Linked DNA regions of Homo sapiens: all the other regions are linked to region 1. Evidence: promoter capture Hi-C in 16 types of primary human blood cells and fetal thymus (Javierre and others, 2016). All regions are on one chromosome and are shown on one strand. Each heading gives the region's core, a stretch centred on a gene start or on the middle of the fragment in contact. The rest is flanking DNA. Distances are from core to core; before and after follow the strand shown. Region 1 holds the start of DNAJC21 (DnaJ heat shock protein family (Hsp40) member C21). Region 2 has its middle 12 kb from the start of ZNF131. Region 3 overlaps ANXA2R-OT1 (ANXA2R overlapping transcript 1). Region 4 has its middle 18 kb from the start of FLJ32255. Region 5 overlaps FLJ32255 (a long non-coding RNA gene). Region 6 overlaps RIMOC1 (RAB7A interacting MON1-CCZ1 complex subunit 1). Region 7 holds the start of RIMOC1 (RAB7A interacting MON1-CCZ1 complex subunit 1).

Region 1 (3,649 bases), core at 586-3,085:
ATATGCTTCTACACTAACCCAAACTCTAAGAATATACTTCTACACTATTTTTACATTTATTAATTTTGGCTGTATCTTCTGACTTACTGCTATGATGAACATCAGTTCATTTACTTCTGCTCTTCTAATATATTTATAATCACATTTTTTCACGCCTCTGTTGGTAAGCATAACTTTAAGTAACAGACCCACACCTCTATCTCTCACTCCATCACCATAGCCATTCCCTTTTGACTTTGGGTCCCTGACCTTTCCTTCCACTCCTCTCATAATCCCTATTTTTCAGACCTGCAATACACACCACCTTCAGTCAAACTGTCCCCCGGAACATCTTTTGTCCTCCACCATGCTATCCTCCATACTGTTGAGTTCACTTTTCCAAATTGCATTCCTCTACGATCCAGTCCAAACTCCTCTGAGAAGGGGAAGACTCAATACAAAATGGTAACTCCCTCCCTGAATTCCTGGAGCATATATTAGTTGTTCCATTAATCTAACCACCAATTATGTATGTTGCGATTTTTTTCTGGCAGTTGTATTTAACTTTTCATTTGTGTAAGGCAGAAAGTTGTTTTCCTAACAAGACTCTAAGACCCCTGTCTCAGCATTTCCAAATCTACTTAGTAGAGTGCAGTGACTTGCATATATTGGATACTCTGTAACCGTGTTTACTGATGAATGCTAATATGAAAGCCTCTTCATATGAACCTCAAAAAGCTGAAAGTCAACTACTCTCTTAGTTTCCCAGCCTGGAAGATCAGATTACTTCATAAAAGTCACACAGGCCTGGATTACAGACCAATGAAACATCCAAAGGAAGGATACTTCTAAGTAAACATACAAACTTTACTGGGGAAGCCGCCTGATTAAAACCTTCCCCGGCAGAATCATGTCCAAAGTGAAGTACAAGGTCTGCTTAAACAGCTTATTAAAAGAAAAAAAAAACAGCGAAAAAAGCGCATCCCTATTGAAAAGATATTTTACTAGCTCCCGTGTCTTAACTTCTTAACTAAGAAACGAAAAGAGCCATACATCAGGTTGAAGTATCTGGGATTCCCGGACGAGGTGGAGGGCAGCGGAGGAAAAACACCGAGAGGCTGCGCTGCAAGGGACGCAGGGAAAAGCAAGCCTGGGGCAGGTCTGAGTTCCGAGTTCCCGACTGCTCCCTCGTGGTGTCTGCGACCCGGTAGCGGGAGCAAGTGAGGTTGTTGGACTGCAGTTTTCCCCCTACAGTGGCGATGCGGGGCCGGGGTCGCGGGTATGAGGAGATGGGGTGTGAGCCGGGGTGCGCCAGGGCAGAGCGCTTCGCCCACCGAGACGGGCAGGGCGGCTCCGGGCACTGGCCGGGCGGGGCAAGGAGCTCCTAGGCCGCCAGGTCCCTCTCTGCTGGCTCCGCGGAGTCCGCCCGGGGGAAGGGAAGGTCGGGGAGGGCCGGGCTTCTCCGAGTGGCCGCGGGGGCTGCGGGACAGGTACTTACCCGGGTGCCATTTCAGGGCCAGCTTCCGATAGGCCTTCTTGAGCTCCTCCTCGCTGGCGTCGCGCCGCACCCCCAGCGCCTCATAGTGACACTTCATCGCCCGACCGGGCGGGCGGCCGGCGCTGGGGCCCGGGACGGGGTCGGGGCCCGGGCCCGGGCCGAAGCGGCGGCGGCGGCGGCGCTGGCAGTCCTCTCCGGCGGGAGTCCGCCGCCCGCACCGGGCCAGCCAGCGAGCCCGGCGGCGGCGGCGGCGGCGGCGGTGGTGTAGGTCAGTGAAGGCGCGCGGTGGCGGCAGACGACGCAGGCTGCGGCAAGCGGGAGCGCGGCGGGGGCGGTGCCGGCGGCCGCCGCTTCGCATGGGCTAGGGGTGGGCTCTGTGCCGGAAAGGGCCGCGCGGGAGGGGGTGGGGCCTCGGCGGGGTGAGAGGCGAGGCCCCGAGGAAGGAAGGCGGGGCCTTGGCGAGGAGAGAGGCGGGCCGCGCAGGAGAAAGGCGGGAGCTTGGCGGGGAAAGAGGCGGGCCGCGTGGGAGGAAGGTAGGCCTTGGCCGGGAAGAACAGGAGGAAGGCGGGACCTTGGTGTGAGAGGCGGGGCCTCGGCGGGGCGAGAGGCGGGGCCGCGCGGAAGGGAGGCAGGGCCACGCTGGTGTCATTGTGAGGGGCACAGATGGCGGTCAGTGTGAGTGGCAGCCGACCTGAGGGCTGAAGGGGGAGATAGGAGCTGGGATGGGAGAGGATTCTGGAAAATATCTGATTATAATTTCTCAATGGATCCCCGTTTTTATAGATAAGGCGATTCAGACTCCAAGTGGTCAAGTGGTTGGCTCAAGCCTCCTCAGCTAATACAGTAGCAGAATTCGGTTGGACTGAATATCAGGTTTTTTTTTTAATCTCTTTAATTCTCTTCAGCTGCCACTTAAGATATCTGGTATTGATCATCTTGACCAATATGCTTGAGAAAGGACAGTTAGATTATTTAAGCGGAAACAATTTAAAAGGGAAGCATCAACACACTTAATGAAAAGCCTTACCACCAACATGGATGAAATTGTGCTGATCTATCCATCCAACACACTTTAATCCTAACTTTCTGGCCTCTAATCCTACCTTTCCAAGATTGGTTTAGGTTAAGAAAGCAGTTAAAGGATAGTATTTAACTGGTAGGTTTTGGTTGATCTGACTATCTGCACAATTATTCCAAACACTTTGAAAGGTATCAAAATAATACCATAATTATTAAAATGCATTAATACACCAATATATTTCACTGTAATGTGGAATGTTTACATGCATCAGTTAGGTGTGGGTTGTATTTACTAACCATGTATGGTTAGCTATGTTGCTAATATCTATTGCACAGGGTTGGCGTACCCAAGCGGTTTAGTAAGGTTATCCTTCTCTTCCCCAATATGCTGCCCCCAGTAAAATAAAAAACCCACGCTAAGCTTCATCAGGTTACTTCACACGCCACTGACCAACCAACTCACTACTCAGAATTCATACACTTCCCTTTTTTCCAGAGGAAGATTCTACACAGTCTCAGTTAGTTGGTAAATTGGTAATGGATAAGGATTGAGAAGTCTGAGTTTGGGGGAGAATGAAACCTTTCCCCTCCTGAGAACAGAATTGGGATGGTGGGCGGGGGGAAGGGAGGGACAAAAAAAAAAAAAAAAACGGAAAGGGAAAGTATTTTTTTCCCTCCAACTTAATTTGGAGTATTTTCTCCCTCCAACTTGATTTGGTTTTGGATACAGCCTGTAGGAATCACTTACTTCTTTTACCTTCTGAAGTAAGAAGGATTTTTGCCTGTAACATTGTATAATTAAAGGTAACTATGCTGGATATAAATTTCAGTCTAAAGGAACATCTTGACCAGGCGTGGTGGCTCATGCCTGTAATCCCAGCACTTTGGGAAGCCGAGGCAGGAGGATCCCTTCAGCCCAAGAGTTCAAGACGAGCCTGGGCAACATAGCGAGAACTTGTCTCTACAAAAAAAAAAAAAAGCCAGGCATGGTGGCGTGGGCCTGTAGTCCTAGTTACTCAGGAGGCTGAGGCAGGAATACTTGAGCCCAGGAGTTAGAGCCTGCAGTGAGCTATGACCACACCACCACACTACAGCCCTGGGTGACAGAGCAAGACCCTGCCGCTAATAAATAAAGGAACATCTTTTATTAAA
Region 2 (3,649 bases), core at 524-3,023, 8.2 Mb before region 1:
ATTACAAGCATGAGTTACTGTGCCTGGCCGAAACAATTTTTTTAAACCTCAGTAAAGTAATAGACAATATAAAGAAGAAGCAAATTGAAATTTTATAACTGAAAATTCAATAACTGAAATTAAAAGTTCAGTGGATGAGCTGACCGGCATACTAGAGAATACAGAGAATCAGTGAAGTGGAAAACAAAAGAATCAAAACAACCCAATTTAAAGAGCAGAGAAAAAATTGACGGGGGAAAAAAATAAGTAGAGCATCAGGAATCTGTGGGGCTGTAATAGAAGATTTAACATTTGTGTTCTCAGAAACCCTGAAGGAGAGGAGAAAGAGTGAGGCTGAGAAAGTACTTGAGGAAATAATGGCTGAAAACATCCCAAATGTGGTAAGATTTGGTACAGATTCAAGATGCTGACCAAACCCTAGAAAGTATAAACTGAAATAAATCGACACCAAGAAACATAATTAAGCTTATAAAAATTAAAGGCAAAAAAATTATTGAAAGCAGTCAGAAAAAGAAACAAAACCCAAAACCTCGCCTACAGAGAAAAACAATTCAAATGACAGCAAACCTCTGATCAGAAACCACAGAGGACAGAAGGATGTGGCACAATATTTTTTATGTTGCTGCTGCTCAATTCTCAACCTCCTATTGAGATTCCAAATACCCGTTTATTAGGTTTTCTTGTTGTACACTCTGTGTCTTTTCCCATCTGTTCTGTATTTCCCATCTCTTGTCTTTTCTCCTTGTTTCCTCATGGACATTTTCTTCTGATTTTTCTTCCAGTTCACTAATTCTCTTCAGCTGTGCTAATCTTCTGTTAAACTCATTGAGTTATTGATTTGGTTGCTATATGTTTCATTTATTATTATTTTGAGGCAGAGTCTCACTTTGTCACCCATGCTGGAGTGCAGTGACGCAATCACAGCTCACTGCAGCCTCTGCCTCCGAGGTTCAAGCAATTCTGCTGCCTCAGCCTCCCGAGTAGCTGGGATTACATGAGCCCACAACCACACCCGGCTAATTTTTGTATTTTTAGTAGAGACGGGGTTTCACCTGTTGGCCAGGCTGGTCTCAAACTCCTGACCTCAAGTGATTCACCTGCCTCGGCCTCCGAAAGTGCTGGGATTACAGGCGTGAGCCACCGTGCCTGGCCATGGCTGCTTTATGTTTTAGTTATTTTTGCTTCTTTATTATCATTTCTAATTTTCTATGAGTTTCTCAATCTTGTCTTTTATTTTCTTATTCATATTGAATGGTATTTTACAGTCTGTGTCTCGGTATCTAGAGACTGTTTCGTTGTTGCTTCTCTCAGTGTTTCTTCATGTTCTATTGCCTTTCATTTTCTTAAAATTGAATGCTGGATACTGTATGGGAAATTTTTTACAAACACTTTGAGGCCTGCAATAATTTTATCTTTCTCTATAGAAGAATTTTGCTTTTGGTTGGCAGCTAGGGGTATTGGCAATTGGGATAACCTTAATTCAATTTTAGAAATGGAGATAATTCGGCTGGGCACAGTGGCTCACGCCTGTAATCCCTGCACTTTGGGAGGCTGAGGCAGACGGATCACAAGGTCAGGAGTTCGAGACCAGCCTGGCCAACATGGTGAAACCCTGTCTCTACTAAAAATACAAAAATTAGCCGGGCGTGGTGACACATGTCTGTAATCCCAGCTTCTCGGGAGACTGAGGCAGGAGAATCGCTTGATCTCAGGAGGTGGAGGTTGCAGTGAGCCAAGATTGTGCCACTGCACTCCAGCCTAGGCGACAGAGCGAAACTGTCTCAAAAAAAAAAAAAAAAAAAAGAAAGGGAGATAATTCGAAGATTAACTTACTTCCTTTTGAGAACTAGTTTATTACCAGTTCTCCTTTATTCCTAGGGTGTAGCACCTTAGGCTTTTAACCCACATCTGAGTCCTCCTTTTTATTAAGATTGTTTGGAGCTGGGCGCGGTGGCTCACACCTGTAATCCCAGCACTTTGGGAGGCCAAGGCGGGCATATTACTTGAGGTCAGTAGTTCGAGACCAGCCTGATCAACATGGAGAAACCCTGTCTCTACTAAAAATACAATATTAGCCAGGCATGATGGTGCATGCTATAATCCCAGCTACTTGGGAGGCTGAGGCAGGAGAATCGCTTGAACCCGGGAGGCTGAGGTTGTGGTGAGCTGAGATCTCGCCATTGCACTCCAGCCTGGGCAACGAGCAAAACTCTTCTCAAAAAAAAAAAAAAAAGATTGTTTGGATTTATTCTCATTGTTCATTTCTGAGATGTTATCACTAAAGACTCCTTTAAATATTCCATTTTTGTGTAAGTTGGTAATCAATGTTTTGTCCTTAGTTGGGTCAGACAGAGTTAAAAGGGAATCAGTGCCCATGCTCATGGCTAGCTTGATAGTGATAGTGATCAATGAGTTTCAAAAGGCTAGGAGAAAACCAGGGAGCAATAGTGAGAAAGCATGAGTTTAGTCAGGCTCCCTCCCTCATCACCCCTTGTGTGTAAACTTTAGAGTCCAGAGCATTATTTTTAGTGATGAAGGTAACACTTTTATATGTTCATTGGGTTCTTCTGAATCTTTTAAGCTCCTGTTGTTTTCTTTGAGGGCCAAGCGAACAGAGTCCTGGCCAAAAAATAACATTATAGTGGTGAAGATAGAGACATTGAGGGTTGTACTGATAACCTGTGATAGGGAGAAGATGTGGATGGTTTTAGTGCAGACCCTTGATTTGAATATACTTGTAATCAAATAACTTGTGTTTTCCTGAAATAGAGATTACTAATAATATCACTTAATAAGATGACATTAGTTACATAAAAACAGACAAGGTAGCTGTATCAACACATTTAGAATCTTTATTGAAAAAATAAGAATAGCAGAATAGGACATGGAATTAATTGAAAAATAAAGAATACATAGAATGATAAAATTCAGCACTCTCATAGCTCTGACTAAAAAAAATATTTTTAAAAATTCAGCATGCTTTCTCTCAGCACTGAGCAGTGCAGTTTAGGACATGTTTTTGGCAAATTGTTGGTATTGGTTTGTCTTAAAGGATTCATGCATAGGGCTTAAGAAAGCTTCCTCTTACACGGTACTAAAGTGGCCTATTAATGTGTCTCTCTCCCCTAGATTAGAATTTTTTTGAGGAAACTGAGACTATATCTTCTCTGTGGTCTCCTAGAGGTCATCAGGGCCACTTTCATTTTAGAGGTTCCTGGTATATTAAAAAATCAAGAAATCGGCCAGGCGCAGTGGCTCAGGCCTATAATCCCAGCACTTTCGGAGGCCGAGGCGGTCGGATCACGAGGTAAGAAGATTGAGACCATCCTGGCTGACACAGTGAAACCCTGTCTCTACTAAAAATACAAAAAAATTAGCCGGGCGTGGTAGCGGGTGCCTGTAGTCCCAGCTACTATGGAGGCTGAGGCAGGAGAATCGCGTGAACCCGGGAGGCAGAGCTTGCAGTGAGCCGAGATCGCACCGCTGCACTCCGGCCTGGGGGACAGAGCAAGACTCCATTTCAAAAAGAAAAAAAAATCAAGAAATCCCAAGTTTCCAAAAATTGTAGCCTATTTTAAATATTTACATTTAACAAATTTCTACTTTTTCACAAATCAGAATATAATACAATATAATCCAGCTTTTCAAA
Region 3 (3,649 bases), core at 1-2,500, 8.1 Mb before region 1:
TGTATGTGTGCAATAATATACAATGGAGCTGACAGGGCACACAATCCCCTGGGCTCAGGGTTGGTGGCCTCTGGAGTCCTGGTGCCTAGTCTGTTGAATCCCAGGCCTGATGCACCCCAGAGGAAAGTCCTGCCCCTGCTGCACCCCAGGAGGAAAGTGCTGCTTCATGGCATCCATCTCACAATTGGTGACAGAGTATCTGGAACTTAGAAATCTCCAGCATTTGTGTTTCTATACTCTTCTGCTCTCTTGGGTGGTTCTAACCAGATAACAAGAAACTGGATGATAACTTCAGTCTTAGAAGCAAATTTCCTTAGGAGATAGAATTAATGATACTAACATAAAATCCTACCGTCTGGGGTGAAATTATCTAGATTAGGACAGATTGGTTTTGCAGATGAAAGGAAAAAGTACTACCATGTCTGTGGAGGAAAAGCTGTTTTTATGGTGCCTGGCTTTAGAAAGTTCATTATTGCCCCCAAATCACATTGCTAGTCCTAGAGCAGAGACTAGAATCCTTTCTACCAGGAGAAAAGCTTGGGGTTAATGTATAAAGCAGATATGGGGTGTTACTGAGGAGCTGGGTAAGCATAGTTGCCCAATTGTTAATGTGGTCTTTCACTCTCCCAGTTTTGTCTTCTGCTGAATTGCTGTATTAAAAAGATTTTGGCCAGGTGCAGTGGCTCAGAGCTGTAATCCCAGCACTTTATGAGGTGAGGCAGGCGGATCACTTAAGCCCAGGAGTTTAAGACTATCCTGGGTAACATGGCGAAAAAAATACAACAATCAACTGGGCAAGGTGGTGCATGCCTATAGTCCCAGCTACTTGAAAGACTGAGCCGGAGAGCCACCTGAGCTTGGGAAGTTGAGGCTGCAGTGAGCCGAGATTCAGCTTACTGTACTCTAGCCTGAGCAGCGGAGTGAGACCCTGTCTCAAAAAACAAAAAGAAAAAAGATTTAGGCTGGGCACGGTGGCTCACGTCTGTAATCTCAGCACTTTTGGAGGCCAAGGAGGGAGGATCACCTGAGGTTAGGAGTTCGAGACCAGCCTGAGCAACATGGAGAAACCCCGTCTTTACTAAAAATACAAAATTAGCTGGGCATGGTGGCACATGCCTGTAATCCCAGCTACTCGGGAGGCTGAGGCAGGAGAATTGCTTGAACCTGGGAGGCCGAGGTTGCGGTGAGCTGAGATCACCACATTGCACTCCAGCCTGGGCAACAAGAGCAAAATGCCATCTAAAAAAAGAAAGAAAGAAAAAAGATTTCAACACTTCTGCTTGTGTGTAATAGCAAGAAGTTTCAGGCCCCACTGGCTCGGTTACAGAGAGGTTACATGCCATTCTAGATGTGTGAACCTCTGTAAGTTATCCAACCCGGTAGCCTTTATTTTAACCACCTCAGAAATGGAAGCCAAATGTGCTTTCATTTTACAAAGTAACTATCAGGGATACTTTTGATGGAAAAAGTTAATGTTTGGACAGTATCTGGTTGAAAGTAATTAGGTCAGTTTTTAACAATATTATCGTTGATTTTATCATAAACTGAAAGATATTCTTAATCAGAACGAATGTAAAATGAATCCTTCTTTGTTGTATTCTTGCTGTGGATTTTTTTTCCTTCTCATATCCTCTGTGAAACTGGAATTTGTCTGAGTTAAACATGCTATTTGGAAAGCATCAATGGATACAATTATAGAATTACCTAATTAAACATTATTGTTTACTATGGTAAAATCTGATTGATCCCAACATTTAGCAAGCATGTTTTGATATCCTTCTGTGTTCCAGGGGCTATAAAGGGAGCCACAAATACAAAGATGAGGAGTTGGCTGCAGTTTTCACAACTCTTACTAATGAGAGAATAAAGACTCTGTCAGGAGATCATTCAGAACACAGCTAACTCTGTGTTTATTCCAGGAGCTGATTTGAAGACCAGAAAGAAAAGGTCTGAATTGAAGCTTCCCTTCAAAGCCATGCTTCTTTTTACTAGAAAAAAGGAAAATATGCAACTATACAACAGGAAGTGAAAAAAATGAAACAGAATGAGAATGACAGAATAGATACAGAAGGCAGAAGATTGAAAGCTCTTGTTAGGTGAAAGGTTTATGGACTCTAGGTGTCTGGAGAATGAATCCTGAGAGCAGGAGCAACTCCTACATGCCAGTATTACTCGAGAAGTACCAGTGGTGATCCCAGAAAACTAGCTTTAGCATTTTTTTTTTTTTTTTTTTGAGACGGAGTCTCCCTCTGTTGCCCAGGCTGGAGTGCAGTGGCGCGATCGTGGCTCACTGCAAGCTCCGCCTCCCGGGTTCATGCCATTCTCCTGCCTTAGCCTCCCAAGTAGCTGGGACTACAGGCACCCGCCACTACACCCGGCTAATTTTCTGTATTTTTAGTAGAGACGGGGTTTCACCGTGTTAGCCAGGATGGTCTCGATCTCCTGACCTCGTGATCCGCCTGCCTCGGCCTCCCAAAGTGCTGGGATTACAGGCGTGAGCCACCGCGGCCGGCCTCTTTAGCATTTCTTTGAGTATGTAGCCTGGATGTGTCTCTCCAGATGTGAACAGTGGATGGAACCTTGCATTGTAGAGAGTTGGCAGTGCTCTGCATGGGTATAACACACAGAGTAGTGACCATTCCCAAAGGAGACCCATGTCACACAGGCAGAGACCTGCTGTCCAGACTCTTATGCAGACATACTTCTCCCTCCAACATGTGCAAAGGAATGTACTATTTCTTTTCAACTTCCCCAGACAAAAACTGTTAAGGCAGGTGATACTTTCTCAGGGAATGTTGATTTACACATACTGCAATTATAATATTATCTGAAAAAAAAGAAATCTGCAAGTGATCTGAGGGTAAATGCTGCAGCTGCAAGCCCCACTTGCAAGTATTCTCAGGACAAATGGGAAATGGGTTAAATGACTGCGTATAGTATTTTGCTTTTACATGTTATTTATATTATGTTACATCCTCCAAGAATTAGCGTGTCATAACTTAGAGAATAAAGAACTCAGCTGATATAGGGGTCAACTAATCTGATAAACTTAGGAAGAAAATGTAGAAATATACCATCAAGCGTTATCAGTTACAGCTTTCTTACAAATGCCTTTGCTACATCTTTGGCCAACCTGATAATTTATGGAGTCAATATCATATACGTGGGCACTGTATCATCAGTAGTTTAACAATTCAATCAAAACTAAATCAAAACTTCCACCTTTATCTAATCATGTATCATTTTTGCCTAGAGGCCAGCAGGCCATCTTGGGCAGAAGACTACAAGATTTTTTTAGTCTAGATACCTCCCATTTAGTTCACTGAAAGCCATTAATTGCTTTCTCTTTGTCCATGGCTGTAACAAACGTTTATTTTTATTTTGGAGGCAAGGTTTCACTCTGTAGCTCAGGCTAGAATGCAGTGGTATCATCACAGCTCACTTCAGCCTTGAACTCCTGGGCTCAAACAATTATGTTGCCTCAGCCTCCTGTGTGGCTGGGACTACAAGCAGACACCAACACATCCAGCTAATTTTTTTTTTTTTTTTTTTTTTACTAGAGATGGTATTTTACTATGTTGCCTGGGCTAGTTTTGAGTTTTTGGCCTCAAGTGATCCTCCTGCCTCAGCCTCCCATAGTGCTGGGATT
Region 4 (3,649 bases), core at 422-2,921, 8.1 Mb before region 1:
GGTGGCTCACGCCTGTAATCCCAGCACTTTGGGAGGCCGAGGCGAGCAGATCACAAGGTCAGGAGATCGAGACCATCCTGGCCAACACGGTGAAACCCCATCTCTATTAAAAATGCAAAAAAATTAGCCGGGCATGTTGGCGGGCGCCTGTAGTCCCAGCTACTTGGGAGGCTGAGGCAGGAGAAAGGTGTGAACCTGGGAGGCGGAGGTTGCAGTGAGCTGAGATCCCGCCACTGCACCCCAGCCTGGGCAACAGAGCAAGACTCCATCTCCCCCACCCAAAAAAACATCTTTAAAATTTAGCTTTTAAAACACATTTAGTTATTATTTTACTGTGTTTATTCTTCGTGGTTAGGCACATTTATGCCTTTTTGTTTCCTCCCTTGAGTTGTGGGCCTGGACTCCTAAAACCTCCATTTCTAAATTTGCCTTACCAACAGGGTCACAATGGTAGGCAGGCTTAGTGGGACATGAGGCAATAAAAAGATGAACAGTCATTCTGGTTATGGCTTGGCAGTGGGATGGCAGCACATTAGCTTGGCTCTCACGGTGTGGGCTGCTTTGGTTTCTTTTCCTAACTGAACTCTGACAGGTAGAGTCCTCATGTCCAGGAATAATTCCAGAAAACAATAAAAAAAAAAAATTGGTTTTCAGACCAGGACACAAACATAACCATAGTAGATGAGGGCTCACTCATTTACTAAACTTGAATGTGGTTATTACTTCATTGCTATTGTAAACCAAAAATAAAATTTGAAGCCCCCTGCCACCAACATCTGAATGGACCCCTCTTCTCCGCCAAGGGCATTCCAAAGTTAGACTGAAAAAGTAGTTTCAAGCCATGCTGGGAAGGGGGAGTCAGACATGCCTCATTATATTCTCCTCTCTTTTAAAATTATTGATAGAACAGACTCTTTAAGTCTGGTTAGAAACATTTACAATCTATCTCTCTGAAGTCTTCCACCTGGAGGCTTCATCTGCGACACCTTTGTCTCTGGAACACCTTATGGCAACCCAGGCATTCCTTTCTAGAGATAATAGTTATTGCAACAAATTGCCAATCATAAAATTTTTGAACCTCTCCAACTTGAAAGATCATGCTTCCAGTTGTACTGCCTTTCTGGACTGAACCAATGTACAACACCTTAAATGTATTGATCTCATGACTTCCTAAAATATATATAAACCAAGTTGTGCACTGACCACCTGAAGCACATGTTCTCAGGATCTCCTGATGGCTGTTTCATGGGCTAATGGTCACTCACATTTGGTTCACAATAAATCTCATCAACTATTTTACAGAATTTGACCCTGTGTCTGCTGGACCTCCCAGAAGAGCAGCAGCACATGTGCTGATTTCTTTGGGTTTCAAAATTGACAACAGTCAATGGAAAACTGGATTCCAAATTCTACCAGAGAATACTGTGCCAGGTGCTTTCAGTGGGACCCTTGCTGTCTCTGGGATTTCAAGTGCTATTACAATGGTCTCCCCCAGGGCACATTAAAGGACTGGTGAGATCCCTAACTGGCATGGCTCCAGAAGTGATGTGGAAGTTAGGAAACTCAGGCAGTCATTGATTTCCCAGCCCCACTGACGCTTTTCCTCTATCTCCTGGCTGAGAAAAGAAGACCAGGAAGAGCCGTGAGGGACTTCCAGGGTGGCATGTGGCTGTCTCCAGCACACGTACATAACCTGGATTATATCTGTAACAAGCTATGCTGATGGATCAGCAGGTTAACCCAAGCTGAAAAAAGCAGTCAAGCACTTCCTTTGGTGTGTGAGGCAGAAACCAGGACATCTGCTGGTCCACCAGGGGACAAAAATCAATCCTATTTCACCAATGTGTCTCCTCCGTGTGGGGAGTATAGGGCATTGAAGGTGGATGAGAATCACCATCCACCTTCTGCTGCACAGGAAAGACAAGGGAAGACTCCAGGGAAGACAGAGGAGGAAAACGTCGAGCAGCCCCAGGTGGATGTGTCTGTGTGTGTGTGTGTGTGTGTGTGTGTGTGTGTGTGTGTACCTTGACAGTGGGTAGAGGAAGGGAGAGGAGGGTTGAGGTCTTCCCACTAGAGGAGTGAAATGAGCAGAACTGAGAAAAGAGGTCAGAGAAAAGAAAGAGGAACCTACAAGCCACCACAGAATTTTCTTTCCCCAGAGAATGGTCTCTTGCCCGACTAGGGGCTGGGTATCCTTGTGAAGTCACCGGAGGTTTTCAAGGGGTGGGCTTCCTGGCTTCAGTAGACTCAAGGTCCCTAAGGTCCAGTTAGGATAGGCGCCTGGGAGGGCTCCCGAGTTGGAATAAGAGTCGGAAGAACTGACAGGGCTGGGGGCGCACTAAGCACACTCTACTCCTGAGAGGTGAGGGTGGGGATGTTGGAGGGAAAAAGGGCTGCTTTTTCCTGCCTGCAGGCTTCAGATTCACAGGGGATGTGAGGAGAGGGCGGAGGAGGAGGAAGCAGCGGCTGTTTATGCTGGGAAGATGGCTCAGTTGAGAAGTGAGGCAGATGTGGCCTCAGAGGGTCTGGCGGATGGCTGCCGGGATCACCGGGGGCTGGACTTTGAGATGTCCAGGACGAAGTGTTGCCCTTTCAGTGCTGCCCTCCCTGTGTCTGCTGGAACTGTTGGAGCCGCAGTGCAGCCTAATTTTGACTTCAGGTAAAATAATTCAATATACTGAGGCCCAGGGGGAACAAAGCAAGGTCTACTCCATATCTCTGAACAGCTGGTGTCTTTCAGTGCCTAAACTCAATCAGAATCCTGGGAGCAAAAGTAGCTCTCCAGTGCAGTCCATGCAGGTTACTTCTTGCAACATAGAGGTGACTGAAGCATGGTAAGCAGATCTAGAAAGGCAAACATCTCTAGCAGATCTAGAGAGGCTAGCCAATGTTAGCTAGCAGTGTCTTTATGTTGATAAACCTATTCAGAATGTTAACTTTGTTTGTTGGTTTGTTTGTCCATTTTTGTCTCCCAGGCTGGAGTGCAGTGGTGCGATCTCGGCTCACTGCAACCTCCAGTAATTCTCCCGCCTCAGTCTTTCCAGCAGCTGGGATTACAGGCTCCCCATCGCCACACCCAGAATTTTTTGTAGAGACGGGGTTTCGCCATGTTGCCCGGGCTGCTCTCAAACTCCCGATTTCTTAGTCTGACCAAGTCAGGGTTTAGCTATTTCTTAGCGTAGCAAGTTGAGATTTATTCCAGTTTCGATTTCTAGTTGTAACAATGCTGGCTTTAACCGTGCCTACGTAGTCGTTGCAAGTTCCTGTTTTGTAATAGGAACCCCCATTATAGCCGTTCGTACGGTTTTTAAGTCTTGTAGAAATCTGGGTACTGGAGAATGTAATTAAAAAAAAAATTTAGCAGTGCCTGAAATCTTTTAGTCATACCAAGTGTGATTTCACAATAGAGATTCTCGCCCTGGCTGTGCTTGTGATTTTTCACTCATGCAGAAGTTGAGGTGTCTAGGCTACAGGAACTTTTTGGTGTCGCAAATACCGGTTTAGCCATGGCTGTTTCTTCTTAATCCGAGGAATTTTCGAATAGGCGCAAGAGGCACAGGTTTAGTGCTAATACAAATATAGCCGTAGGATCGCATCGTTCAACACTGCAATTTCTTTGTAGGGTTATTTGTATGTTTTGTATACTCAA
Region 5 (3,649 bases), core at 856-3,355, 8.1 Mb before region 1:
TGAGCCCCCTCAAAGAGACCTACAGACCCTGCCATGAGCATCTCCATCCACACTCATCATTTCCCATTTTCACCACTTCTGCTCCTGTGCAAACCAGTACTATCCTTTTCTGGGGGATCCTAGGCAGAAGCGATGGCAGGACAAAGGCAGAGAAGGCACTGCCAGGTAAGGAAATCTATTTTGCCCTTGCAATTCTGTCTCCCAAGGGATTTGCCTCAATATCTCCCTCCCACCATACCCCTTCTTCAGCTAGCCAAAACCTTCCCTGCTATTTGAGGCTCCTCCAATTGCCTCCTGGTCCTGTGGTTGCAAGAATAAAGGAAAAACTACACTGTTCTCACCCACATAGTTACAGACACTATGAAATAGAAGAGCAGTCTGGAGTCATTGCAAAGCAAAATACCTACCATCAGTTCTCTCTTCCTATTTCTTTTTTTTTTCTTTTGAGACAGAGTCTTGCTCTGTCACCAGGCTCGAGTGCAGTGGCGCGATCTCGGCTCAGTGCAACCTCTGCCTCCCGTGTTCAAGGATTCTCCTGCCTCAGCCTCCTGAGTAGCTGGGGCTACAGGAGCGTGCCACAACGCCCAGCTGATTTTTGTATTTTTAGTAGAGACGGGGTTTCACCATGTTGACCAGGATGGTCCCGATCTCTTTACCTCGTGATCTGCTCGCCTTGGCCTCCCAAAGTGCTGGGATTACAGGTGTGAGCCACCGTGCCCGGCCCTCTGTTCCCATTTCTACTCCAGCTTCCCATCTTAGTAAAAAAAATCTGTGAGCAACACCCTGTAGCGGGAAAAGGTAACCTGTCTTGATGGGAGTCCATAGGAGGCTGCAGGCTGCTTCCCTACAGAGACTGATATCAAGGTAGCTGCAGAATTTAGATTCTAATCCTAGTGTGATTGGAGGTGGGGTAGATTCCAGGGAGGTCAGAAAGTGATCAAATACAAAATTGTGCTCCTTTGGAGGAGGTCATAGGAACTTTGAATTATGACAATGGCTAGTAATTGGGTAGAATTGGAGCAGGCTGGTGATGGCAGTTTTGTGTGGGTGGTAGGACCTAGGAATCAAACTTGAGGGCAAATTGTGGAGCACATATGACAAACGATGTAGAGCCTTTCCTATTTCCCTTTCCAGTGTGTTATCCAAAACAATAAATAATAAAGAATTAAGAAAGACTAATATTTTTATCAATCTCATTAAGAAAAATTGCATCAAATCAAGATAACTATAATGATAAATATTGTTAGAATATTATTAACCAAATGAAAGTGACACAAAACAAAAACGGGGTGGATGGTGGGAGAGATCAAATAAAAGCAGTCTCCAACACTCAGGCAATTTGCACAGGTGAATCTTCTGGCCAGTTGTTATGTTGCAGGAAGCTGTGCAACTAATGAATGAGGAGGCAGGAATCCATATTAATACTTTCCTGATACAGAGAAATTCTTGGATTTAACAATCTGCTTCTTTGTCAGATACTGACTTTTGATTATAGGCTCAGAAAAGATGATAACAGTTATAATCACTTAGTCTAGTAGAGTAGGTAAAAGAAAGACTGTGTAGGAGGCTAGACAGAAAGCAAAAGGTAAAAGTGCCCCGGGGTAAGTCATCTAGAGTTGAAAGTGAAGAACTGTGCTTGGTACCAATGGAGGACTCCACCAGGTCAGGTTAACCTACAAAAAATGAACCATTGGCTGTTGATCTCTGGGACTGAAGATTCACCCTATCCCATTCCTGTCTAGCCTCAGCTTTACATTCACTGTGTAGCTCAAAGGTTTTTGTTTGTTTTTTTTTTTTTTTTTGTAAAACACTCTCCACAAATGTTTGATAGATTATAAAACCCTGTCCTAAGACTTTGTCATCCACAGACAATTGTCTTATTTTCAGTCCTCTTCAAAAGGTCGTTTATAATTAGCTATTGGATTTTGATAGGTGTTTTTGAATGCAGGTTTCTAATTACTCTGGAGATTGTGACATTAGAATAAAGAAAAATGTGACATGAGTCTGCTTGGGAACATTTTTTTTTTTTTAAAGTGGAATAGAGGAGTAAACTTTTAGGACTCTCATGGAGAGCTGAAGTATTCGTGAATATCAAACAGGAGTTAATTGCATGGACCGAACAAATAGAAGACTGAAATGATATTGTTGACTTTTTTGCTAAAAAATTGCTGATCCTTAAAAAATTGCTGATCCTTTTTTATGTTTTCCTGAGTCAAGGAAACTTTACTTTTGAGCTATTGACAGCTTTTAACAATTCAGTAAAGTATACTCCAGTGAACAAAATTTGGAGCATATTTCTTTCTCTTTACCTGATTTCTCCAGAATTTGGAAACTATTTGTGAATATTCTTAACTTATGTCAATGTAGTTATTTGCATAAGTGCAATAAGAATGTTTTCTTTTGCAACAGAACACCATTGGAGAAACTGGTTATTTTACCAAGGCTTTGACTGAAATGGTGTGCTTTTCTTTAAGGAGTCAAACTTGAGTTACAGAGCCAATAAAAGCTCCTTGGGAAAACAGGCCCCAAACCTTGTCTACACAGACCCTATACAGGGTTTCTGATTTGTGGTAAGTAAAGAATGTCACTTTTTGACAAGCCCAGGAGCCCCAAGTGATCTTGGGACCTCTAGAGGAGGGGAATTTACCCAACTCATATGTATTCGATGGTACAAAGCCATGGCCGGGCTCGGCTTTTAAAAAGTCTTATCTGAGACTTTTTCTATGGAATAGAGTTCCATCAAAGTCATTTAAAAAGGCTTGTGTGAAAAATAATTGTTCTTGCGGCACTTTATACAAATAATCAGACCAAGTATAATAAAGCGAATAGGTCCTACCATGATTTCTCTTTAGTAAAAATGGGAAACTGGAGAGAGAAAAATTATGTTTCAACAACTATAGTATACATGCTGTTAGATTCTAGTCTTGCCTAATGTTATTTAATTTTTATTATTTTCTACAGTTTGGACTGAATTCCAAAATTTTTTTCTGGCTAAAAGTCTCCAAAATGATGTTTTCAATTATTTTCTTCTTTCTTTTCCTTTCCCTTACCCATTTTTTCCTAATTTTAAATCACTGAAAACTAAACTGTGCTTTCTTAAAGCCCTGCAAAATGAAGCTAGACAACTTAAACTTCAGAAGTAAATAAGAACAACCTATGTACATACATAAACCACTCTCATACCTGCCTGCTGATGTATGGACTTCAAAGTATTATGGCCCATATTGATTTTCCAGAATTATCTTTTTTGGTTTGTTTGTCGCTGTTTTTCTCCTTTCCTACCCATATTTTCTCTTCATAGGATGTGAGACTTCACAACCTGCTAAAAATGAGCCCTCCTAATAATGTGTGTCCTACCCAACTGGGAATAAACCATCGTAGCCATGAGAGATCAGATGGCTCTTCTCCTCCAAATATCATGTTAGAGGAGACTCACTTTCTTGTAAAATGCTTTATCTGAAAGAATTTAAAAAGAAACGGGAGGAAATGTGAAAGGAAAATAAATCCAGGGACCCCCAAATCACTAAGCCAAAAGGAAAAGTTAAGCTGGGAGCTTTAGGGCAAACCTGCCTTCCATTCTATTCCTAAAGAATATAGCTGCTAAGTTGAAAAAGTTACATACCGGCCAGGCAAAGTGGCTCACGCCTAT
Region 6 (3,649 bases), core at 704-3,203, 7.0 Mb before region 1:
TGATTAAAAAATCCAGTTTTAAATAGGATATGTATAACATATTTAGATGACTAGTACATCTCAATACAGTGGGTTTTATATATATTTTGAGGGAGGGCTGAAAATGTTTTGAAAATTAATTGGATGTTTTCTTCCAGTCATATCCACAAAAAACATTTGAGATGCCTATCCAAGTCCTGATTTCTTCTCTGAAGTCTGCTTCCCACCTAGAAAGACCGGCATGACTTGAACTAAGGAAAAGGCAGTGCTTTCCTGGCCAACAAGTTTGTCATTCAATTGTCTGGCTAATGAGTCAGCATGCTAAATGAGGTATGCCTATATACAGAACTAGACATTAAGGGAAACAGTCTAGAAATAGCTAATTCTCTTGTGCTCTTATATACTACACACTGAACTAAAGCACTCTGAATATTAACTTATTTATCTTCAATATCCTTGAGGTAGGTACTATTACTGCCTTAAAAATAAGATAAGGCAGCACAGGAAGATTAAATAACTTAAAGAGAGTCACACAGTTAGTATTATAAATGGCAGGGCTATGATTAAACTCAGGCCTTCTGGCTCCAGAGCTCAGAATCCTAACCACTATATTACCCCATCTTTAAAAGTTATTAGGACCAGAAGAAATAACATTCAGAAGTTAAAATAGTAAACTGAGATGATAAAAGTTTTAATTCTGATGCAACAGCCAAATATAAAACAAGCAACAAGTAGGGGTGTATGGTTTTATTTTTTTAAAAATGTATATGCTCAATAACAGTTTACTTGGAAATTTTCACTAGAAGAAATAACATGAAAGAACACCAGCATAAATACATAATACATACTTTAATTGTGGCTATATTAAATGTATCTTAATGTAATACCGCTGTAACATGGTATCATCTCATTGTTAAAAATTAAAAAAAAAAAAAGAACATAGGGAAGTGAAACTAAAAAACTATAGAATCCTGGATTCTGTGGCAGATGGAGTACCCTTATTTAAGCTAGAAAAGGAGCCCTGTAAGGTAGAAAGAGAAAAGAGGCAAGCAATCTGAAACCATCATGTTAACCAACTGTGAGTTTTTAAAAATGTGGTTAAAATGAATCTAAGAATGCCTTTTAACACAGCTCACACTTTAATGAACACCAGAGAATTCACAGCAAGACTGTAAAGCTAGGAATGTAAAGTTATTGTGGGGTTTTAGCCACGACCCTCACCTCACTCTACTATATGCAAAAGAAGAAAGAAAAGTCTTTAGTCATGATTTGCACCTTAATCAGCATCAATTATTCTCAGCAGCCCAAAACCCTATAAATGCAGCAGAGCACACAGGTCTTTAACTAAGTCTAAAAGCCTAGTTAACATCAAAAAAATTCATATTGGGAAAGAGCCATACACATTTAACGACTGTGAAAAGTCCTTTAACAGAGTTTTGGTAACCATGAGAGAATTCAAACCGAAGAGAAACCCCAAGTGTAAAAAATGCAACAAGGCCTTTAGGTATCACTCAACCATTAGCAAAATCCATAGGGGAGAGAAACCTTTTATGTGTAGCTGAAATGATAAAGTCTTAAGTAGTGACCCATTCCTTAATTCAATATCAGAACTTCTGTAAGAAAGAAACTTTATCAATGTGCGGAATACGCAAGGTATATAACCAAAGGAGAGAAATTTGAAGACACAAATGCTAAAGCAGTAGACAGTTCCCAACCACCCCTAAATATGATGGCATCCCACCCCTCTCCCTATCACACTAGCCCCTTACCCTCATTTATTCTTCTTCATGGTACTCATCACTTGACACTCTCTATACATTTATTACTTAAAATGCTTGTCTAACTTCCTCCACTAGAATATAAGCTCTGAAACAGGAGGGGGTTTTAAAAAGCTATATCCTCAGGGTCTAGGATAAAATCTGGCATATGGTAGGCATACAATAGTTGAGTGAATTTAGTGTAGTACTTTCCTTATGTGGGGTATTTGGTACCTTGAGGTTACTTCATTCTAAGTGAATGATTTAGCAGGCTTTAACATATATAAAAATGTGTTCATTATTCTATAATACACCAGAGTAAAAAGCATTTTAACTGCCATGGTCTACAAATTATTCTCCAACTGTGTGGGGGATGGAAAGTTGTATAAAAAGCACCCAGTACTACCCTCATAATTGTACCAACCAGTGAGACCAAGTGGTCTACCAGGGTCACGAAGGTAAAATGAAGTTTCCAACTTCTTAAGAGAAAGTTCTCTTTTCTCAGGTTCAGAATCTAAACACTTTACTCCTCTCAGGATGGCATATATCCCTATATGCCTTGTCAGCCACTGGTATAGAGGGCATAGCAGTTTGGAATCCAATAGCAACAACTTTTTGTGCAAAGTTTGGCATTTAGAATCATGCCTCATTAATTCAAAAACATTACTAAGGGCCTACCATGCATTAAGCACTATGTATACAGGTAAATTTTTAAAATATGGAGTTTACCAACAATAAAGAAAATAATTACAAAGCAGTGTGATCAGTGCGACAACATGGGAGGGGAAGAGTAAAGGACCAGAACAAAGGAGCATCTAATTTGACTGAAAAGGGCTTTAAAAAGCCTATGAAAACAGAATCACTGAAGCTGAGTCCTAAGAGGTAGGTAGGTATTCACTTGGTCACAAAGAAGGATGCAGAAGTAATGATGTGTGCAAGGCTACTGAGGTGGAAAACACACAAAGCGCATTTAGGGAAGAAGTGGAAGTACTTGCAATTGATCAGGATGCTCTAAAAAGAGGGATAGTCTGTGGTTCTAAAAACCGTATTAAAAATAATTTAAATCTTTATACTTAGAAAGCACAAAGGTATTTTCATAAGAAAACTTGCTAAAATGCTAAGTTAAATAAAAATCTTAGCTGTGTAATGATAAACAAGGGGGCTGGGGCAGGAACTGAGAAATTCCCTTTGCCACAGAGGCTCTATATCAGAATTTGTATGTTTACCAAAAGCAGCCTGGATTTTAACTGTTTGAGCAACACTGGACTAGAACATGATTACACAGGATGACTGCAGAGACATGGCTGGGAAGGTAGTCATTCTGTGTTGCCCTGATCTGCGGAAAATCCCAAAAAGAGAAAACTTACAAAGCAGAAAGGATTTTATATAACAGATGAGGACTTGACGTTTGGAAACACTGAGCTTAAAATTACTGTGGGATGTCTAATGAAGATATTTGATAGACAGTTAGAAACAAGGTTTAGAAAGCAAGAGATAAGTCAGGATACAAGTTACAGGTTTGAGACTCAGTCTGTTATTACAGGTGGTAAAAGAAGCCATAGTTATGAATGACATTGTATAAAATATGTAAAGTAAAAAAAAAAAAGAGAGAGAGAGAAAAAAATATAGTGAAGATCAATACCTAAAAGGTAGGCAGAAAGTGAGACAACACTTTGTGGGGAAATGAGAGAGACAGCGAAGATGAAACCAACATGTAGCACAGAGTCGCCTTTGATAGGAAGCAGGCAACCTCTTTTCCTCTAAAATGGGAAAATGAGTAAAGTTGGTAAATACAAGTTGACCTCTTCATAGTCTCAATTTTCTGTTCAATAGGAGAAAGAGCCATATGCTAGGGGAGGGGCAGAGGGCCTAAGGAAAGTAATGAAGTTTGGCTCAGCCACAGCGGGAAATGG
Region 7 (3,649 bases), core at 423-2,922, 7.0 Mb before region 1:
TTCAATTCAAGTACATGAAATCTTGTTTTAATTAAAGTTCATAAATCTTGTAATATTTTTAAGATTGAACTGATTTCCATGCTGATCAACGGCTCATAATGTGGACCACTAACATTGTCATTTTATTTTAGTAAATTTTCAGAAGTATAAAGCCTTCAAACAAGAATTCCATATATAGCACATGACTTTTATTTCCAGCTCTGATTCATTCCAGATTAAAGAACTCTTCCAAGGGAAATGAGAATGGCTTTTTAGTTCAGTGATAAGTGAATAAAAAACATTCTTTGGTCTCTTTGGACTGGTTCAAGTGAATCTGGAATTAGAGGTAACATAGATAACTTTCAAGTTAATAGCTCCTACTACCCAAGAATTATTCATGTGAATCCACAGACCAAAATATAAGTCGGCTTCAGGGTGGTCTGTAGGTCTTTAAAGAACACACTCCTGGCCTGGCACAGTGGCTCACGCCTGTAATCCCAGCACTTTGGGAAGCCAAAGCGGGTGGAATGCTTGAGCCCAGGAGTTCAGGACCAACCTGGATGACATGGTGAACCCCGTTTCTACAAAATATGCCAAAGTTAGCCGGGCGAGATGGTGTGCGCCTGTTGTCCCACTACTAGAGGGGCTCCAGCCTGAGCAACAGAATGATACTCTGCCTCTAAAAACAAAACAAAACAAAACACTCCTGATAAATGATAATCTGGCAAAAAATATTCACTGAAACTAAGGCATTTCATCATAGACCCTATTTAATAACAAATTCACCAACTATTCAATCGCTTAAGAAAATGTTCCACCACTGTTTTCCTATGAGTCCGATGATATGAGTCAGTCCACAGAATTTTAAAAACTATCTGTAGTAATTGCTCAAACTCAAAAAGGAATAATGTAGAACCTAAAGGCAGCTGAGACGTAATGAAAAGAATTGGACTTAAATTCAGAAGGTTGAGGCAATTCCCTAGCCCAGTTTTTCCTAACAGCTTAGACCTTTCCAAAACAAGTATGCCAATACTTAACAGAGCCCTTGTGAGAACTGGCATGATGTATGGGGCAGAATAGTCTACACACCAATGTAAAGCTCTTCTATAGAATGTTGTTTTGAATCCAAAACGTAAAACGCAAATTACAACGCAGCAATGAAAAAGTGGAACTGTTATACATGTCTTTTTATCTTTACAGGATGCAAACCACCATAACTAATTTGAGTGTTATCATTCATCTTAGCCATTTATTTAAACTTCTGTATTTTATTTAGATTCTGCCCTTCTTCCAATCGCTACCGAGACAGTTTACACCAGCACGGATCTAGACAGATTTTCCATGGGTTCTGAATAATGCGGTTTTCGAAGACAACGCCTTGGCATTGTGAGTTCTGGGAAGTGGGCAATCGATGGCGCAGAGGGGCTCAGAAGCGACAGACCTCGGGTAACCACCTGCGGCCTGGGACCCAAAGGAACACAGGCCTCAGCCTCTAGCCCTCACAGCCATCGAGCGCCAGTACCTTAGCGCCGTCTGCCCCGCCCGCCTCCCTCTCCTCCGCTCCCTCACCATCTTCACCGGCAGCTTCGCTAAGTTGCTGTATGTGGGCCTGAGCCAGATCCCCGAGCTCTTCCACTCGTCTCACCACACTAGAGACTGCGGCCGCCATGGCCACAATCGGCGGGTGCGCCCCGGTCACGTGACCGTGTTGGCCCGCAATCACCTGATCCCCCGGCACGGGCGGGGCCTAGGGCGGACCTCTCCTGGTTGGTGGGAGGAGACATCAGCTCCGGAAGAGGGCTGGCCCAGGCCGGCAAAGGTCTTTCCGGGTCATTTTTCCCTCCTGGACTTCCCTTCCCTCCCATAATCCTGAGCAGCAAGGAGACTAGGGGCGGGTGTGACGTTGAGACACGCCTCTCTCTAGCCCCCTCCTGTAAGCCAATAGGGAGCCAGCCGTGCCCCTCGGCTGACCCAATCGGAAGTCAGCTCTCTCCGCCTGCCTCTTGGAAGACAGCTTGGTGACGTCTGGCTGGCAGGATGCGGATTGTCGTCCGCACTCCCACTTCCCTGTCCGGCGCGGGAAGCACAGTCTGGAGGGCGGACGCGAGGGTCTGGAGAGAGGACTGTCAGTTTTGGCCTTGTAGTAAGGAGGTTGCTAAAATAAAGTGATTATAATCTCCTGGTCCTAAATGGAAACCCGACCGGCCCCCTGTGTAACACATCCAAGTCTCCAAGAGTTTGTTGTACATCTGGATGGGGAGCTCCAAACACTAGTGGAGTTGCCAGTCTACATGGTTGAATATTGCTTTTGTAAATCTGATTTTTAGCAGTCGAATTTATCTCTGACCTCCCTTGGAGTTCACATTTAAAGTACTTTAGACATCTTGCGTCCAGTGGTAGTAAATTCTGCGGCCACAAAACTATTTTCATTTTTCTTTCATCTCAAGACCTTCCCTTAAGGCGCTAATTGTGCATGAGGTTCATCCTCTCAATCGGGAGTTTCAAAGCACTCAGTCAGCAAGTCTAACTTCACTTTGCATTCTGTGAATGCTTTCTTGCCTCTGGTCAAACAAATCGTTAACTCTGTGTATTCATTTCTCAGTTTGACACACTATATCTTGAATAATCTCCATCCTATTGTTTCTCATGGAAGGTAGTTTTTTATATGTAATAGAAAAATACTAAAAATAGAGAAAAAGTGTATTGTGATTTATAAGTGATTGACCACAATGACTCTCTAACTGACCTTTGTAATACCAGTTTCTTCTGACAATTCACCCTAAATATAGAGGACAGGAATCATGTATTTTGTGTCCTTGGTGCCTCATACAGTGCCTGGCACATATGCACTCTTGTCAACAAGCAAGATGGCAAGGGGATATGATGTGGTCTGTGGGAGTAGACAATTATTCAATAGTGTGGGAATTGTAGGTGAGGAAAAAAAGAATCTAAGTATAAACAAGAAGTTGAGAGAAGGCTTTCTCAACAAGGGATGGAGAAGGTGGTAGTTGAAGAGGGGCAAGTGCTGGAAGGTAGGGTGGAGAATGATCGTATCTGTACACAAAGGGGGAAAAATAGGGAAATAGGGATAAATTCAAAATGAAAGTAGGGAGCCAGCAATGGATAGAGAAAAGAGCAGAAGGTTACACCTGATGCCTTCTGAATCTTCTACAAGATGTAGAACTAAATGAAGCCTTCAGAAGATTTTACTAAACTTTTCAAAAAATAATTTTCAAAAAATAATTAACCTTTGATTAGGAATTTTCAGTCTCCTAGAAAATGTGTAATTTACCATTCTTAAACTACTTAAAAGAATTACCTGGACATGTGGGCAACAGACAAAGGCACAGCTGAAATATTTTGACTGTGGATCTACAAATTATCTCTGCAGAAGTGTTTTACTCTCAGGTCCACTGTTCTTCTCAGGCTTTTATAAAAGACATCTTAGGATCTATGTAATCAGGTCATCCATTTTCTAGCCATGAGATTTGGGTCTGGGAGATCTTGCTCATGATTTCGAAGTGATCTTGGATCGCCATTTGAATCAAGGGTTCCTTTTTAAAATAAACATTTAGAGTCAAATATTCAAAAGGCCCTTTTATTACAACCACAGCTTTATCTGTTCCCTCTCCATAAATGTGGCTATTGAAAACATTTTAGGCCAGGTATA

Evidence for each region. The method cuts DNA at HindIII sites, captures the fragments that hold promoters and counts their contacts. A CHiCAGO score of 5 or more calls a contact.
Region 2: a contact is called between a fragment that was not itself captured here and the fragment with the promoter of DNAJC21 in region 1, in 1 of 17 cell types (neutrophils). The highest score is 9.4, in neutrophils.
Region 3: a fragment that was not itself captured here is called in contact with the fragment with the promoter of DNAJC21 in region 1 in 1 of 17 cell types (neutrophils); the score reaches 5.2 in neutrophils.
Region 4: a contact is called between a fragment that was not itself captured here and the fragment with the promoter of DNAJC21 in region 1, in 1 of 17 cell types (neutrophils). The highest score is 5.2, in neutrophils.
Region 5: a contact is called between a fragment that was not itself captured here and the fragment with the promoter of DNAJC21 in region 1, in 1 of 17 cell types (neutrophils). The highest score is 7.6, in neutrophils.
Region 6: a contact is called between a fragment that was not itself captured here and the fragment with the promoter of DNAJC21 in region 1, in 2 of 17 cell types (total CD4 T cells and neutrophils). The highest score is 6.7, in total CD4 T cells.
Region 7: a contact is called between the fragment with the promoter of RIMOC1 here and the fragment with the promoter of DNAJC21 in region 1, in 3 of 17 cell types (neutrophils, non-activated CD4 T cells and total CD8 T cells). The highest score is 14.7, in neutrophils.

Annotation. Positions count from the first base shown.
Region 1 is chr5:34,927,745-34,931,393 of GRCh38, reverse strand. DNAJC21 (DnaJ heat shock protein family (Hsp40) member C21) reads right to left here and starts at 1,835. Exons shown (of 12, transcript NM_001012339.3): 1 at 1,478-1,835. The coding sequence starts at 1,574. It overlaps LOC124900961 (a long non-coding RNA gene), which reads left to right and starts at 1,713. Exons shown (of 2, transcript XR_007058731.1): 1 at 1,713-1,745; 2 at 2,261-3,649. RefSeq lists enhancers at 1,070-1,239, 706-1,351 and silencers at 1,380-1,579, 1,610-1,679, 1,690-2,159. The HindIII fragment of the contact is 5,598 bases long and covers 1-2,920 here.
Region 2 is chr5:43,106,675-43,110,323 of GRCh38, reverse strand. No RefSeq gene overlaps it. Among named protein-coding and RNA genes, the nearest start is that of ZNF131, 12 kb to the left of the region's middle. The HindIII fragment of the contact is 2,612 bases long and covers 468-3,079 here.
Region 3 is chr5:43,027,398-43,031,046 of GRCh38, reverse strand. The region is part of intron 2 of ANXA2R-OT1 (ANXA2R overlapping transcript 1); the gene reads left to right. LOC105374748 (a long non-coding RNA gene) reads right to left here. Exons shown (of 3, transcript NR_188279.1): 3 at 3,351-3,649. Among named protein-coding and RNA genes, the nearest start is that of ANXA2R, 11 kb to the left of the region's middle. The HindIII fragment of the contact is 1,424 bases long and covers 539-1,962 here.
Region 4 is chr5:43,009,039-43,012,687 of GRCh38, reverse strand. No RefSeq gene overlaps it. Among named protein-coding and RNA genes, the nearest start is that of FLJ32255, 18 kb to the right of the region's middle. RefSeq lists an enhancer at 2,003-2,503. The HindIII fragment of the contact is 8,923 bases long and covers 1-3,649 here.
Region 5 is chr5:42,987,355-42,991,003 of GRCh38, reverse strand. FLJ32255 (a long non-coding RNA gene) reads left to right here. Exons shown (of 2, transcript NR_104643.1): 1 at 1-165. Among named protein-coding and RNA genes, the nearest start is that of FLJ32255, 4.2 kb to the left of the region's middle. The HindIII fragment of the contact is 4,691 bases long and covers 1-3,649 here.
Region 6 is chr5:41,918,699-41,922,347 of GRCh38, reverse strand. RIMOC1 (RAB7A interacting MON1-CCZ1 complex subunit 1) reads right to left here. Exons shown (of 6, transcript NM_175921.6): 6 at 712-3,649. It also overlaps the pseudogene LOC100419715. Among named protein-coding and RNA genes, the nearest start is that of FBXO4, 4.8 kb to the left of the region's middle. The HindIII fragment of the contact is 6,841 bases long and covers 1-3,649 here.
Region 7 is chr5:41,902,367-41,906,015 of GRCh38, reverse strand. RIMOC1 (RAB7A interacting MON1-CCZ1 complex subunit 1) reads right to left here and starts at 1,672. Exons shown (of 6, transcript NM_175921.6): 1 at 1,549-1,672. The coding sequence starts at 1,648. RefSeq lists enhancers at 1,570-1,689, 1,442-1,988, 2,100-2,239. The HindIII fragment of the contact is 10,560 bases long and covers 1-3,649 here.